2 separate regions of the Homo sapiens genome follow, and region 2 is linked to region 1. Evidence: promoter capture Hi-C in human tissues and cell types (Jung and others, 2019). All regions are on one chromosome and are shown on one strand. The core of a region is centred on a gene start or on the middle of the fragment in contact, and the rest is flanking DNA. Distances in the headings are between cores, read along the strand shown. Region 1 holds the start of TWSG1 (twisted gastrulation BMP signaling modulator 1). Region 2 has its middle 14 kb from the start of RAB12-AS1.

Region 1 (6,541 bases), core at 1,939-4,438:
TGCCTTGATGATTGGAAGAGATATAACTTCGAAGTATCTTGAAAGCAGATTGTCCAATCCCAGCCAACAACTTGCCTGCAACATTGTGGGAGACCCTAAGCCACAGCCACCTGGCTAAACTGCTCCCAGATTCCAGGCCCTCAGAAACTGCATGAAATAATACATGTTTATTGCACTAAGTTGCTATGTTTTGGGGTAATTTGTTACATAGCAATGGACAACTAATACATCATACTTAGGGTAACAATTTATCTATTATTTGACCAGCTAATTTTTTTTCTAAATACATTCATTGAACCTCTTTGCTATGTTAATTAGATTACACAGATTAAATCATCTGAATAGAGTGCTCATCACCTTGTAATGACATGTTTATACAACAGGATATTATACTCAGTATTGAACTTCTTGAATCTAACCTTGCCTATATATATTGATTGCTATGAGGGTAAAAATCCAGACCTGTGTGTCATGATTCAGTACCTCAGGCCCTGACCCAATACTCAGGTCTTACTCTATATGATATATGCACTCTATATCTGTATATAAACATAATGTTTCTGCTCTACAATATATTTTGATATTAATAAAAGTACTCTTAGTCCTACCTGAATGAGGCATTTGCTCACATCACTAGCACAGAGTGCTTTGTTACAGCTCAGTGATTCTGGAAGCCATGTCAGGAACATCAGGATGGCTAGAGTAAGCACAGCAACATAGTGTAACTTCATGTTTCTTCAAAGAAGATGATCAGTAACTCCCAGGAAACTAAACAAACAAACACAACTTTAATTCAAAGGCAAGTGCTAGGGTAAAAACAAATATAAAAATGAGAAACAAAACATAAACTAAGACTCATTGTTTGTGTCAATATACTTTTTCTTTCTTTTTTAGAGTCTTGCTCTGTTGCCCAGGCTGAAGTACAGTGGTGTGATCATAGCTCACTGCAGCCTTCAATTCCTGGGTTCAAGTGATCCTCCCACCTCAGCCTCCCAGTTATCTGGGACTACAGACAATACCACCATGCCTGGCCTTCAAAAAACTTTTGAGTGATCATTTAAAGATCATTCTCAATGAAAGATTATATAAACATTCAAAAATAAACAATAATTTTGTATAATAATGGCTTCATAGCCATCTTCAAGGACCTAGAACTCTACAGTTCCTCAGACTATCCAGAAATGGTGACTGTGAAAGTAGAGTGAGTATATCTAAACCCTCAGTAACTTGAGAGTATATCAGGCAAATAACTAGCTTCAATACTGCACTGCTACTATTCAACTTTAATTTTAGGTCCATTATTCAACTGTAAGCCCATATAAAACTATTAATATTGTATTATAATTTTAAGATATTTAATTTTAATTCTTAGAATCAAAACAAAATTTTAAATGGAAATTATTCAGGCTTATTTAGACAGAATAAAGCAGCTCAAAGCAAGAAGTAGAGTCCACAGAGTCACTTCTTAAATAATTGAGCAAATAACAAAAGGCTGTTTAATTACTAATTGCATTAAAAACTCTAGGTAATTATTAGAATGTGACGATATTCTTTTTTTTTTTTTTCTTTTAGACGTTGTCTCGCTCTGTCGCCCAGGCTGGAGTGCAGTGGCGCAATCTCGGCTCACTGCAACCTCCGCCTCCCGGGTTCATGCGATTCTCCTGTCTCAGCCTCCCGAGTAGCTGGGATCACAGGAGCCTATCACCACGCCCCGCTAATTTTTGTATTTTTAGTAGAGACGGGGTTTCACCATATTGGCCAGGCTGGTCTCGATCTCCTGACCTCAGGTGATCCACCCGCCTCGGCCTCCCAAAGTGTGGGATTACAGGGGTGAGCTACCGCGCCCGGCCAAGATATTCTTTTAATTCTATTAGTACCACACATTCTTCAAAGTTATTAAGAAGATACTACAGTTCAAAAAGAAGAAGGAAAAAAGACTAGCACAAACACAGTCTGACAGGGGCCAAACAGTATACAGTTATTAAACTTTAAATACGGGAAGATATCATTTCTTCAGGTTAAAACACCTCCCTATCAAACATAATAAATTAAAATAAATGACTACTGACGTAAGAGGGATAAATAGTGAGTTTATGGGGGCATTTATGATTACTCTAAACTTTTATTCTAAGTGTTACAAAGTACATTAAAGGAAAAATAATAAAAGGGTGAAAAGAATAAAGGGCTTTGGACCTGGTATGAGTCAATTTTGAAAGAGAAAACCCTGGTGATCGTTACTGAGGCTCACAAAGCATTCCCTAAAGACCGTTAGTAACTAATTTTCTAATGTATCTAACGCCGCATACCAAGTAGGATGATTTCTGGAGCAACCAGTACATATTTGCGGAGGCCAAATAAGGTTATTTGGAGACTAACTGTCGTGGAACTAGTTTTCATCCTACAACCATGAAAACTGGGATTTCCCCCCTTTCCCATCTTTTACGGTTGTCTTATGAAATGTTCCACAAATTCATCTTACTCCCCAAATTTCACTGGAAAAAGTATTCAAGTAACTACGACCATGTCGAAATCAGGTAATAGAATTAAAGGACTTATCTTTTCCTAAGGAGTTAGAAACCATCATGCATCAAAATTGTTTCGCATACATCACGCCCAAGTTTCTCGTTAAGGGAGATGGCACTGACAGCGACCAGGGCAGAGCCGAGCCTCTGTAGAGCGGTGCCAGGGCCCCGAAGGCGCCGGACGCCCCGCGAGGCAGAGGCCGGTAGCGGTGTGGGGGACCGGGCACCCGGAACCACCCCCACCCCGGCTCGGCCGACGCGGGCTGCGGAGGACGCGGGCCGGCCCAGAGATGGTCTGGACCAAAGCGGCGCAGAGATGCTGCTGGCTCCCGGCGTCCGGCCTGTGCGCCCGCGCCCAGCACCCCCACTTTGTCCTCCGCGCAGCCGGGCCCAGGCTTCTCCCGGCCCCCGCGAAGCTCGCCGCGGCCCCGGGCCTCTAGAGGGCCGAGCTCGGCGCCCGGCCCCTTCCCAACCAAGAGGCCAAGAGGCTGCACAACCCCCCAGCCGCTCCCACTCACCATGCGCCACGGTCCCGCGAAGTCGCCCACCCCTAGATCCCCGCCGGGTCGGCCGAGCCCGGGGCGCGCTGCGGCGGCTTTGAGTGCGAGGCCAGGCCGCGCCTCCCGCCGTCCCCTCAGCGCAGCGCCCGCGAGCCTCGGGCACCTTAAAGAGACAGGCCCGCCCGCCGCCCTCCTCCCGGCTCCTTGCTCCCCGCCCCTGCTCCCCTCTTCCCCTCCGCCCCCGCTGGGGTCCACAGCCGCCAGCTCCCGCCAGGAGGCGTCTCTCACTCCCCCGGCGCTCCTGTCAGCGCGCACGCCCCCATCTCGGCCCCGCCCACTCCCCCCGCCCCTCCCAACGCCACGCCCCCTCCGCGCCACCCGGTTTCGCCCCTCCCTCGTGCCACGCCTCCACCGCAGGCTCCCGCCCGCCCGCCGGCCCGCAGGCCACGCCCCCAGGCGCACCCACCCCAGCTGCTCAACGCGATTTCCCTTCGCGCTTCTCCGCACCGGGATCCCCAGTCCCTCAGGTTCCGACAGACCCTCCTGTCAGGCCCATTCTCCGGGCCCCCTCAGTTGCAGTGTTAAGATCAACAGTGTTAAGATTAAAGCCTTGTGATGTGCTAGCCACTACGCTGAGGATATGCCGTGTACTAAAATTCCTCAGGACTCCTCACAGCTGCCCTGTAAGGAAGCGGCCATGGCCGGGTTCTAGCGATGCGAGGCCGAGGCTCGGGGCGCTGAGTAGCCTAGCGCGTCGCCGAGGAGAGCTGGCACGTGAACCCCTTGTCGTTTGCCGTCAGAGGTAGGATTTATATAAAATGCGCGTTTCCTAGGTCTACCTCAGACCTACTGAATAAGGATCTCCAAGGGTAGAGCTTTCGAACTTCGTTCACCAATTCGATAAAACTTGCCAGGCTCCTTGTGAGTGGCTGGCGCTGAGCTCTGCATCGGAGCTCTGCATCGGGAGTCGAGAAGAGGGGGCGCCATGGATCCGGGCGCGGAGGTCGCGCAGCCTAGGTAGAAGGTGCGCGGTTAGCACGTAGGTTAAAAACATTGAGAATGACACTCAGTTCTTTCCCACAACTCTGGGTTGCTTTTTTTTTTTTTTCTTTTGAGACAAGGTCTCACTCTCACCAGGCTGGAGGGCAGTGACAACATCAGGCTCGCTGCAGCCTCCACCTCCTAGGCTCAAGCAATCCTCCCGCCTCAGCCTCCCGAGTAGCTGGGGCTACGGGCGCGCACCACCACGCCTGGCTAATATTTTATTTTTTTGTAGATATGGAGGTCTTGCTATGTTGCCCAAGCTGGTTTCAAATTTCGGGGCTCAAGCGATCCTCCCACCGCGGTCTCCTAAATCGTTGGGATGACAGGTGTGAACCATAGTGCCCGGCCGGAATTTGCTTTTTAAAGAAGATTCCAGGGTGATTAAGTTAGAGCCCGCTAGACCAGACCGTCCGCGGGGCACCTTCCCTTGGAAATGATGACCTAGTGTCAAACCCTTATGCTGGTAAATCGTAAATGCCTACCACCCACCTTTGTTGATTGGAAGGAAACAGAATGAAAACAGCTGATTGGCTGGGGGTGGATTGCATTACTGATGTTAGCCCACTTTTGTACAATAAATATGGGTTTTAAAAATCATCCTTGAAAATTATCCTAGAGAAATAATTAAGGGTATACCCAAATTTAAGTATAAGAATCTTATTCTTGGCATTATATACTAGTTAAGTGAATTAGGAAACTTCCGATCAATGCACTAATTCAGCCATTAAAAAGTGATACCGCAGATCAGAGGTTCTCAAACTTTTTCGTCTCGGAATCCCTTTACACTCCTGAAAATTATGGAGCATGCCAAAGAGGTTTTGTGTATGTGTGCTACATCTGTTAATACTTTCAAAATTAAAACAATTTTTTACATATTCATTATTTCATTTAAAAATAACAAACCCATTATATGATAACAAATATTTAATGAAAAATAAGTATATATTTTAAAACAGTAGGAAGAACAGCGTGGTTTTAGATTTTTGCTATTGCCTTTAACATCAAACTTAATAGCCACTGTTTTTATATCTGCTTCTGTATTCAAACTGTTGCAGTATCATGTATTATGTAGTTTCTGCTTGTGAGAGAATGAGGGTGAAAAGTCAAATAATGCCTTAGAATTAAAATTAAAATAATTTTGAGCTCACAACCTCCTGAAAATGTCTTGGGATCCCTCCCTAGCAGCCCCAGATCACACTATGACAATTAGTGTTGCAGATGAATATTGCGACTAGAGATATTCATGATACATAAAAAATTTTAAAGTACTGCATAGTTTTTGAATAATTAATTTTGTTGTTGTTTGTTTGTTTTTGAGACAGAGTCTTGTACTTTCACCTGGGCGGGAGTGCAACGCTGCCATCTCGGCTCACTACAACCTCCGCCTCCCGAGTTCATGAGATTCTTCTGCCTCAGCCTCCCGAGTAGCTGAGATTACAGGCGCACACCACCACGCCCGGCTAATTTTTTGTATTTTTAGTAGAGATGGGGTTTCACTATGTTGGCCAGGCTGGTCTTGAACTCCTGACCTGGTGATCTGCCCACCTCGGCCTCCCAAAGTGCTGGGATTACAGGTGCAAGCCACGGTGCCCGGACTAGAGTTATTTTTAAAGTGCTGGAAAGATAATGATGGTATTAGTGGTTATCTCAGTGAGATGGAGTGTTGTCTGTTGTTAATGATGTTTTTTTCTTTTTGCTTGTCTGCATTTTCTGATGTCTTTGCTTGTATTAATTTGATAATAAGAAAAGTAACACAGTTATTTTTCATTTAAATTAAAGATCCTCTTTGACAGGACCTGGAAGGTCAAATGGTAGTTGAGCCCTCAGGTGAATATCAAGTGGTTCCGGATCTCAAATGGTTGGCCATTTGGGAATCTGGGAGCCACGGGGGTCACTGCAGTGGCTATTTTATTTCACCAGAAGACTTTCTGATCTTTGCAAGTGAGAGAGTCTGACAACAATGTGATAGAGCTTCTTAGTAGGGTTCAATGAAAAGTTCAAAGGATTCACTCCCAATCCTCAATCGGATACAGATGTGTCAGTGGGTGGAGTCTCTCAGCCAGCCACAGCTGCTCTACCAAATTACCTCATGTTTAGTGGCTTAAAACAACACAAATTTGACAGGGCGAAGTGGCTCACACCTGTAATCCCAGCACTTTGGGAAGCCAAGTTGGGAGGATGCCTTGAGCCCAGGAGTTCAAAACTAGCCAGGGCAACATGGCACAACTCCAACTCTACTAAAAAAAAAGTAAAAATTAGTCAGGTGTGGTGGCATACACCAGTGGTCCCAGCTACTTGGGAGGCTGAGGTAGGAGGATCACTTGATCCTGGGAGGTTGAGGCTGCAGTGGGCTGTGATCACACCACTGCACTCCAACTTGAGCATGGGAGTGAGACCCTGTCTCAAAAAATAAATAAATAAATAAATAAATGAAATGAATTTATTACTTTACAGTTCTGGAGGCCAGGAATTCTA
Region 2 (6,541 bases), core at 2,931-5,430, 690 kb after region 1:
CGTAGATTGAGGTACATTTTTTTTACATATGAATATCTAATTGTTCCAGCTATTCACTGAAAAATCTATCCTTTCTCCATTGAATTGCCTCTTTCCAAACTTGTTGAAAGTCAATTCACCATATATGTATGACTCTATTCTGTTCCAGTCATCTGTATGTCTATCCTTTCTTCTCCACTATTTTTTTTCTTTTCTTTCTTTCTTTCTTTCTTTCTTTCTTTCTTTCTTTCTTTCTTTCTTTCTTTCTTTTTTTTTTTTTGAGACAGGGTCTCACTGTGTTGCTCAGACTGGTCTTGAACTCCAGGCCATCCTTCTGCCTCAACCTCCTGAGTAGCTGGGACTACATGCACGCACCACCATCCCTGGCTTATCCCTTATGCCTTGATTACTGTCGATTTATAGTTAAGTCTTGAAATTAGATAGTGTGGATCTTCCAACTTTGTTGTTCTTCAAAATTGCTTTAGCCTTTCTAGTTTATTTGTTTTTATATATAAAGTTTAGAATTAGCTTGTTGATTTCTACAAAAAATCCTGTAGGGATTTTGATTGGATTGGTGTATCTCTCTCCACTTGTTTAGGTCTTTGATTTTTTTAATCAGAATTTTGTAGTCTTCAGCGTGTAGATCTTACATATATAATTTGTTGTGTGTGTAGGTGTGTGCGTGCTGTTTAAATAGTACTTTGAAAAAATCCAACCTTCAAGTGTTTATTGATAGTAAATAAAAATACAATTAATTTTTGTATGTTGACCTTGTATCCTGTGACCTAGCTAAACGCACTTATTAGTTCTAACAGCTTTGCTGTAAATTCTTTGTGAATTTCTATGCAGACAATCATGCGAATAGTTTTATTTGTTTTATTTATTTGTTTCCGTTAATTTCTTCTTCTTGCCTTATTGCAGGCTATAAACTTTAGTATGATGCTTAACTTTTTAAAAAAATCCTTGTATTGTTCCTATTCTTAGAGTTAAGACAAGTCTTCCACCATCAAGGATAAGGCTAGCTGTTGTTTTGTAGGTAACATTTACCAGGTTGAGAAAGTTCCCTATGTTTTTTTTTTTTTAAATAGCTTTGGCAGTTTGTGTTCTTTAGGAAATTTGTCCATTTAATCTAAGTTGTTAAATTTATAGGCTTAGGATAGTTTGTGCTGTTTCCTTATTATTATTTATTATTATTATTTTTTGAGACAGAGTCTTACTCTGTTGCCAGGCTGGGGTGCAGTGGTGCAATCTCAGCTCACTGCAACCTCTGACTCCCTGGTTCAAGCTATTCTCCTGTCTCAGCCTCCCGAGTAGCTGGGATTACAGGCATGTGGCACCACGCCCAGCTAATTTTTGAGAGATGGGGTTTCACCATGTTGGTCAGGATGGTCTGGATCTCCTGACCTCATGATCTGCCCGCCTCGGCCTCCCAAAGTGCTGGGATTACAGGCATGAGCCACTGCAACTGGCCTCCTTATTATTCTTCAGTGCCTGTAATGATTTCTCCTCTTCCATTTCAGTTATGGATAATCGTCTTCTCTCTGTATTTCTTGGTGAGTGTGGCTAGAGGCTTATCGGTTGTGTTAATTTCGCTGGGCATGATGGTTCACACCTGTAACAAGCATTTTGGGAGGCCGAGGTGGGAGGATCACTTGAGGCCAGGAGTTCAAGACCAGCCTGGGCAACCCACTGAGACTCCTTCTCAATAAATAAATAAATAAATAAATAAAAATAATTTTTTTTGAAGTTCAAGTTTTATTTAATAAATTAAAATACATTATTCAATTTTAATTAATTTAAAATTTTTTTATTATACTTTAAGTTCTGGGGTACATGTGTAGAATGTGCAGATTTGTTACACAGGTATACACATGCCATGGCGGTTTGCTGCACCCATCAACCCCTCATCTACATTAGGTATGTCTCCTAAATGCTACCCCTCCCCTAGCTCGCCACCCTGTGGCAGGCCCTGGTGTTTGATGTTCCCACCCCTGTGTTTATGTGTTCTCATTGTTCAACTCCCACTTATGAGTGAGAACACGTGGTGTTTGGTTTTCTGTTCCTGTGTTAGTTTGCTGAGAATAATGGTTTCCAGCTTCATCCATGTCCCTGCAAAGGACATGAACTCATCCTTTTTTATGGCTGCATAGTATTCCATGGTGTATATGTGCCACATTTTCTTTAGCCAGTCCATCATTGATAGGCATTTGGGTGGGTTCCAAGTCTTTGCTATTGTGAATAGTGCTGCAATAAACATATATGTGCATGTGTCTTTATAGTAGAATGATTTATTATCCTTTGGGTATATACCCAATAATGGGATTGCTGGGTAAAACGGTATTTCTTGTTTTAGATCCTTGAGGAATCGCCACACTGTCTTCCACAATGGTTGAACTAATTTACACTCCTACAAACAGTGTAAAAGCATTTCTATTCCTTCACATCCTCTCCAGCATCTGTTGTTTCCTGACTTTTTAATGATCGCCATTCTAACTGGCATGAGATGATATTTCACTGTGGTTTTGATTTGCATTTCTCTAATGACCAGTGATGATGAGCTTTTTTTTCATGTGTTTGTTGACCACATAAATTGTCTTCTTTTGAGAAGTGTCTGTTCATATCCTTCACCTACTTTTTGATGGGGTTGTTTTTTTCTTGTAAATTTGTTTAAGTTCCTTATAGATTCTGGATAATAGCCCTTTGTCAGATGGGTAGATTGCAAAAATTTTATTCCATCCTGTAGGTTGCCTGTTCACTCTGATGATAGTTTCTTTTGCTGTGCAGAAGCTCTTTAATTTAATTAGATCTCATTTGTCAATTTTGGTTCTTGTTGACATTGCTTTTGGTGGTTTAGTCATGAAGTCTTTGCCCATGCCTATGTCCTGAATGGTATTGCCTAGGTTTTCTTCTAGGGTTTTTATGGCTTTAGGTCTTATGTTTAAGTCTTTAATCCATCCAATTTTTGTATAAGGTGCAAGGAAGGGGTCCAGTTTCAGTTTTCTGCATTTGGCTAGCCAGTTTTCCCAACACCATTTATTAAATAGGGAATCCTTTCCCCATCGCTTGTTTTCGTCAAGTTTGTCAAAGATCAGATGGTTGTAGATGTGTGGTGTTATTTCTGAGACCTCTGTTCTGTTCCATCAATCTATATATCTGTTTTGGTACCAGTACCATGCTGTTTTGGTTACTGTAGCCTTGTAGTATAGTTTGAAGTCAGGTAATGTGATGCCTCCAGATTTGTTCTTTTTGCTTAGGATTGTCTTGCCCATACAGGCTCTTTTTTGGTTCTTATGAAATTTAAAGTAGTTTTTTCTAATTCTGTGAAGAAAGTCAATGGTAGCTTGATGGGGATAGCATTGAATCTATAAATTACTTTGGGCAGTATGGTCATTTTCATGATATTGATTCTTCCAATCCATGAGCATGGAATGTTTTTCCATTTGTTTGTGTCCTCTTTTATTTCCTTGAGCAGTGGTTTGTAGTTCTCCTTGAAGAGGTCCTTCACATCCATTGTAAGTTGGATTCCTAGGTATTTTATTCTCTTTGTAGCAATTGTGAATGGGAGTTCACTCACGATTTGGCTCTGTTTGTCTATTATTGGTGTATAGGAATGCTTGTGGTTTTTGCACATTGATTTTGTTTCCTGAGACTTTGCTGCAGTTGCTTATCAGCTTAAGGAGATTTTGGGCTGAGGTGATGGGGTTTTCTAAATATACAACAGAGACCATTTGACTTCCTCTTTTCTTAATTGAATACCCTTTATTTATTTATCTTGCCTGATTGCCCTGGCCAGAACTTCCAATGCTATGTTGAATAGGAGTGGTGAGAGAGGGCATCCTTGTCTTGTGCCGGTTTTCAAAGGGAATGCTTCCAGCTTTTGCCCATTCAGTATGATATTGGCTGTGGGTGTGTCATAAATAGCTCTTATTATTTTGAGATATGTTCCATCAATACCTAGTTTAGCTAGAGTTTTTAGCATGAAGTGGTGTTGAATTTTATCAAAGGCCTTTTCTGCATCTATTGAGATAATCGTGTGGTTTCTGTCATTGGTTCTTGTTAATTTTCTGCCTTGTTGATCTGTCTAATATTGACAGTGGGGTGTTAAAGTCTCCCATTTTATTGTGTGGGAGTCTAAGTCTCTTTGTAGGTCTCTGAGAACTTGCTTTATGAATCTAGGTAATCCTGTATTGGGTGCATATATATTTAGGATAGGTAGCTTTTCTTGCTGCATTGATCCCTTTACCATTATGTAATGTCCTTCTTTATCTTTTTGATCTTTGTTGGTTTAAAGTCTGTTTTATCAGACTAGGATTGCAACCCCTGCTTTTTTTTTTGCTTTCCATTTGCTTAGTAAATATTCCTCCATCCCTTTATTTTGAGCCTATGTGTGTCTTTGCACATGAGATGGGTCTCCTGAATACAGCACACTGATGGGTCTTGACTCTTTATCCAATTTGCCAGTGTGTGACTTTTTTTTTTGAGACGGAGTTTCACTCTTGTCTCCCAGCCCATAGCCCTCACTTCCTCTCACCTATTGTTGGGGTCTCTGCCTATGGGCAGAAACCACTGCTTCCTTGCTTTCCCACTGCTTGCTTGCTTGTTTGCTTTTTTTTCTTTTTGAGATGGAGTCTTGCTCCATCACCAGGCTGGAGTACAGTGGTGTGATCTTGGCTCACTGCAACCTCTGCCTCCCCGGTTCAAGTGATTCTCCTGCTTCAGCCTCCTGAGTAGCTGGGATTACAGGTGCATGCCACCATGTCCAGCTAATTTTTTGTATTTTTAGTAGAGACAGGGTTTCGCCATATTGCCCAGGGTGGTCTCGAACTCCTGACCTCAGGTGATTCACCCACCTCAGCCTCCCAAAGTGCTGGGATTACAGGCATGAGCCACTGTGCCTGGCCCACTCTGTGTCTTTTAATTGGGGTATTTAGCCCATTTACATTTATGTTAATATTGTTATGTGTGAACTTGATCCTATCATTATGATGCTAGCTGGTTATTTTGCCTATTAATTGATGCAGTTTCTTCATAGTGTTGATGGTCTTTACAATTTGGAATGTTTTTGCAGTGGCTGGTGCCAGTTTTTCCTTTCCATATTTAGTGCTTCCTTCAGGAGCTCTTGTAAGGCAGGCCTGGTGGTGACAAAATCTCTCAGCATTTCCTCGTCTGTAAAGGATTTTATTTCTCCTTCGCTTATGAAGCTTAGTTTGGCTGGATATGAAATTCTGGGTTGAAAATTCTTTAAGAATGTTGAATATTGGGCCCCACTTTCTTCTGGCTTGTATGGTTTCTGCAGAGAGATCTGCTGTTAGTCTGATGGGCTTCCCTTTGTGGGTAACCCGACCTTTCTGTCTGGCTGCCCCTAACATTTTTTCCTTCATTTCAACCTTGCTGAATCTGATGATTATGTGCCTTGGGGTTGCTCTTCTTGAGGAGTATCTTTGTGGCGTTCTCCGTATTTCCTGAATTTGAATGTTGGCCTCTCTTGCTAGGTTGCGGAAGTTCTCCTAGATATCCTGAAGAGTGTTTTGTAACTTGGTTCCATTCTCCCTGTCACTTTCAGCTACACCAATCAAACGCAGGTTTGGTCTTTTCACATAGTCCCATATTTCTTGGAGGCTTTGTTCCTTTTCATTCTTTTTTCTCTAATCTTGTCTTCATGCTTAATTTCATTAAGTTGATCTTCAATCTCTGATATCCTTTCTTCTGCTTGATTGATTCGGCTATTGATACTTATGTATGCTTTACAAAGTTCTCGTGCTGTGTTTTTCAGCTCCATCAGGTCATTTATGTTCTTCTCTAAATTGGTTATTCTAGTTAGCAATTCTTCTAACCTTTTTTCAAGGTTCTTAGCTTCCTTGCATTGGGTTAGAACATGCTCCTTTAGCTCAGAGGATTTTGTTATTACCCACCTTCTGAAGTCTACTTCTGTCAATTCATCAAACTCATTCTCCATCCAGTTTTGTTCCCTTGCTGGTGAGGAGTTATGATCCTTTGGAGGAGAAGAGGTGTTCTTGTGTTTGGAGTTTTCGGCCTTTTTGCACTGGTTTTTCCTCATCTTCGTGGATTTATCTACCTTTGGTCTTTGATGCTGGTGACCTTTGGATGGGTTTTTTTTTTTGTGGATGTCCTTTTTGTTGCTGTTGATGCTATTCCTTTCTGTTTGTTGGTTTTCCTTCTAACAGTCAGGCCCCTCTGCTACAGGTCTGCTGGAGTTTGCTAGAGGTCAACTCCAGACCCTGTTTGCCTGAGTATCACCAGCAGAGGCCGCAGAACAGCAAAGATTGCTGCACGTTCCTTCTTCTGGAAGCTTCCTCCCAGAGGGGCACCTGCCAGATGCTAGCTGGAGCTCTCTTGTATAAGGTGTCTGTCGACTCCTGCTGGGAGGTGTCTCCCAGTCAGGAGTCATGGGGGTCAGGGACTCACTTGAGGAGGTAGTCTGTCCCTTAGCAAATCTTGAGCACTGTGCTGGGAGATCTGCTGCTCTCTTCAGAGCCAGCAGGCAGGAACGTTTAAATCTGCTGAAGCTGCGCCCACAGCCGCCCCTTCCCCCAGGTGCTCT

Evidence for each region. The method cuts DNA at HindIII sites, captures the fragments that hold promoters and counts their contacts. A contact is called where the count stands out against the background at its distance.
Region 2: a contact is called between a fragment that was not itself captured here and the fragment with the promoter of TWSG1 in region 1, in 1 of the 25 tissues and cell types used here (heart left ventricle).

The regions. Positions count from the first base shown.
Region 1 is chr18:9,331,420-9,337,960 of GRCh38, reverse strand. TWSG1 (twisted gastrulation BMP signaling modulator 1) reads right to left here and starts at 3,188. Exons shown (of 5, transcript NM_020648.6): 1 at 3,041-3,188; 2 at 609-768. The coding sequence starts at 731. TWSG1-DT (TWSG1 divergent transcript) reads left to right here and starts at 3,492. Exons shown (of 3, transcript NR_183523.1): 1 at 3,492-3,824. RefSeq lists enhancers at 2,588-2,637, 2,400-2,900 and a silencer at 2,698-3,487. The HindIII fragment of the contact is 24,059 bases long and covers 1-6,541 here.
Region 2 is chr18:8,647,264-8,653,804 of GRCh38, reverse strand. No RefSeq gene overlaps it. Among named protein-coding and RNA genes, the nearest start is that of RAB12-AS1, 14 kb to the right of the region's middle. RefSeq lists an enhancer at 6,158-6,541. The HindIII fragment of the contact is 8,267 bases long and covers 47-6,541 here.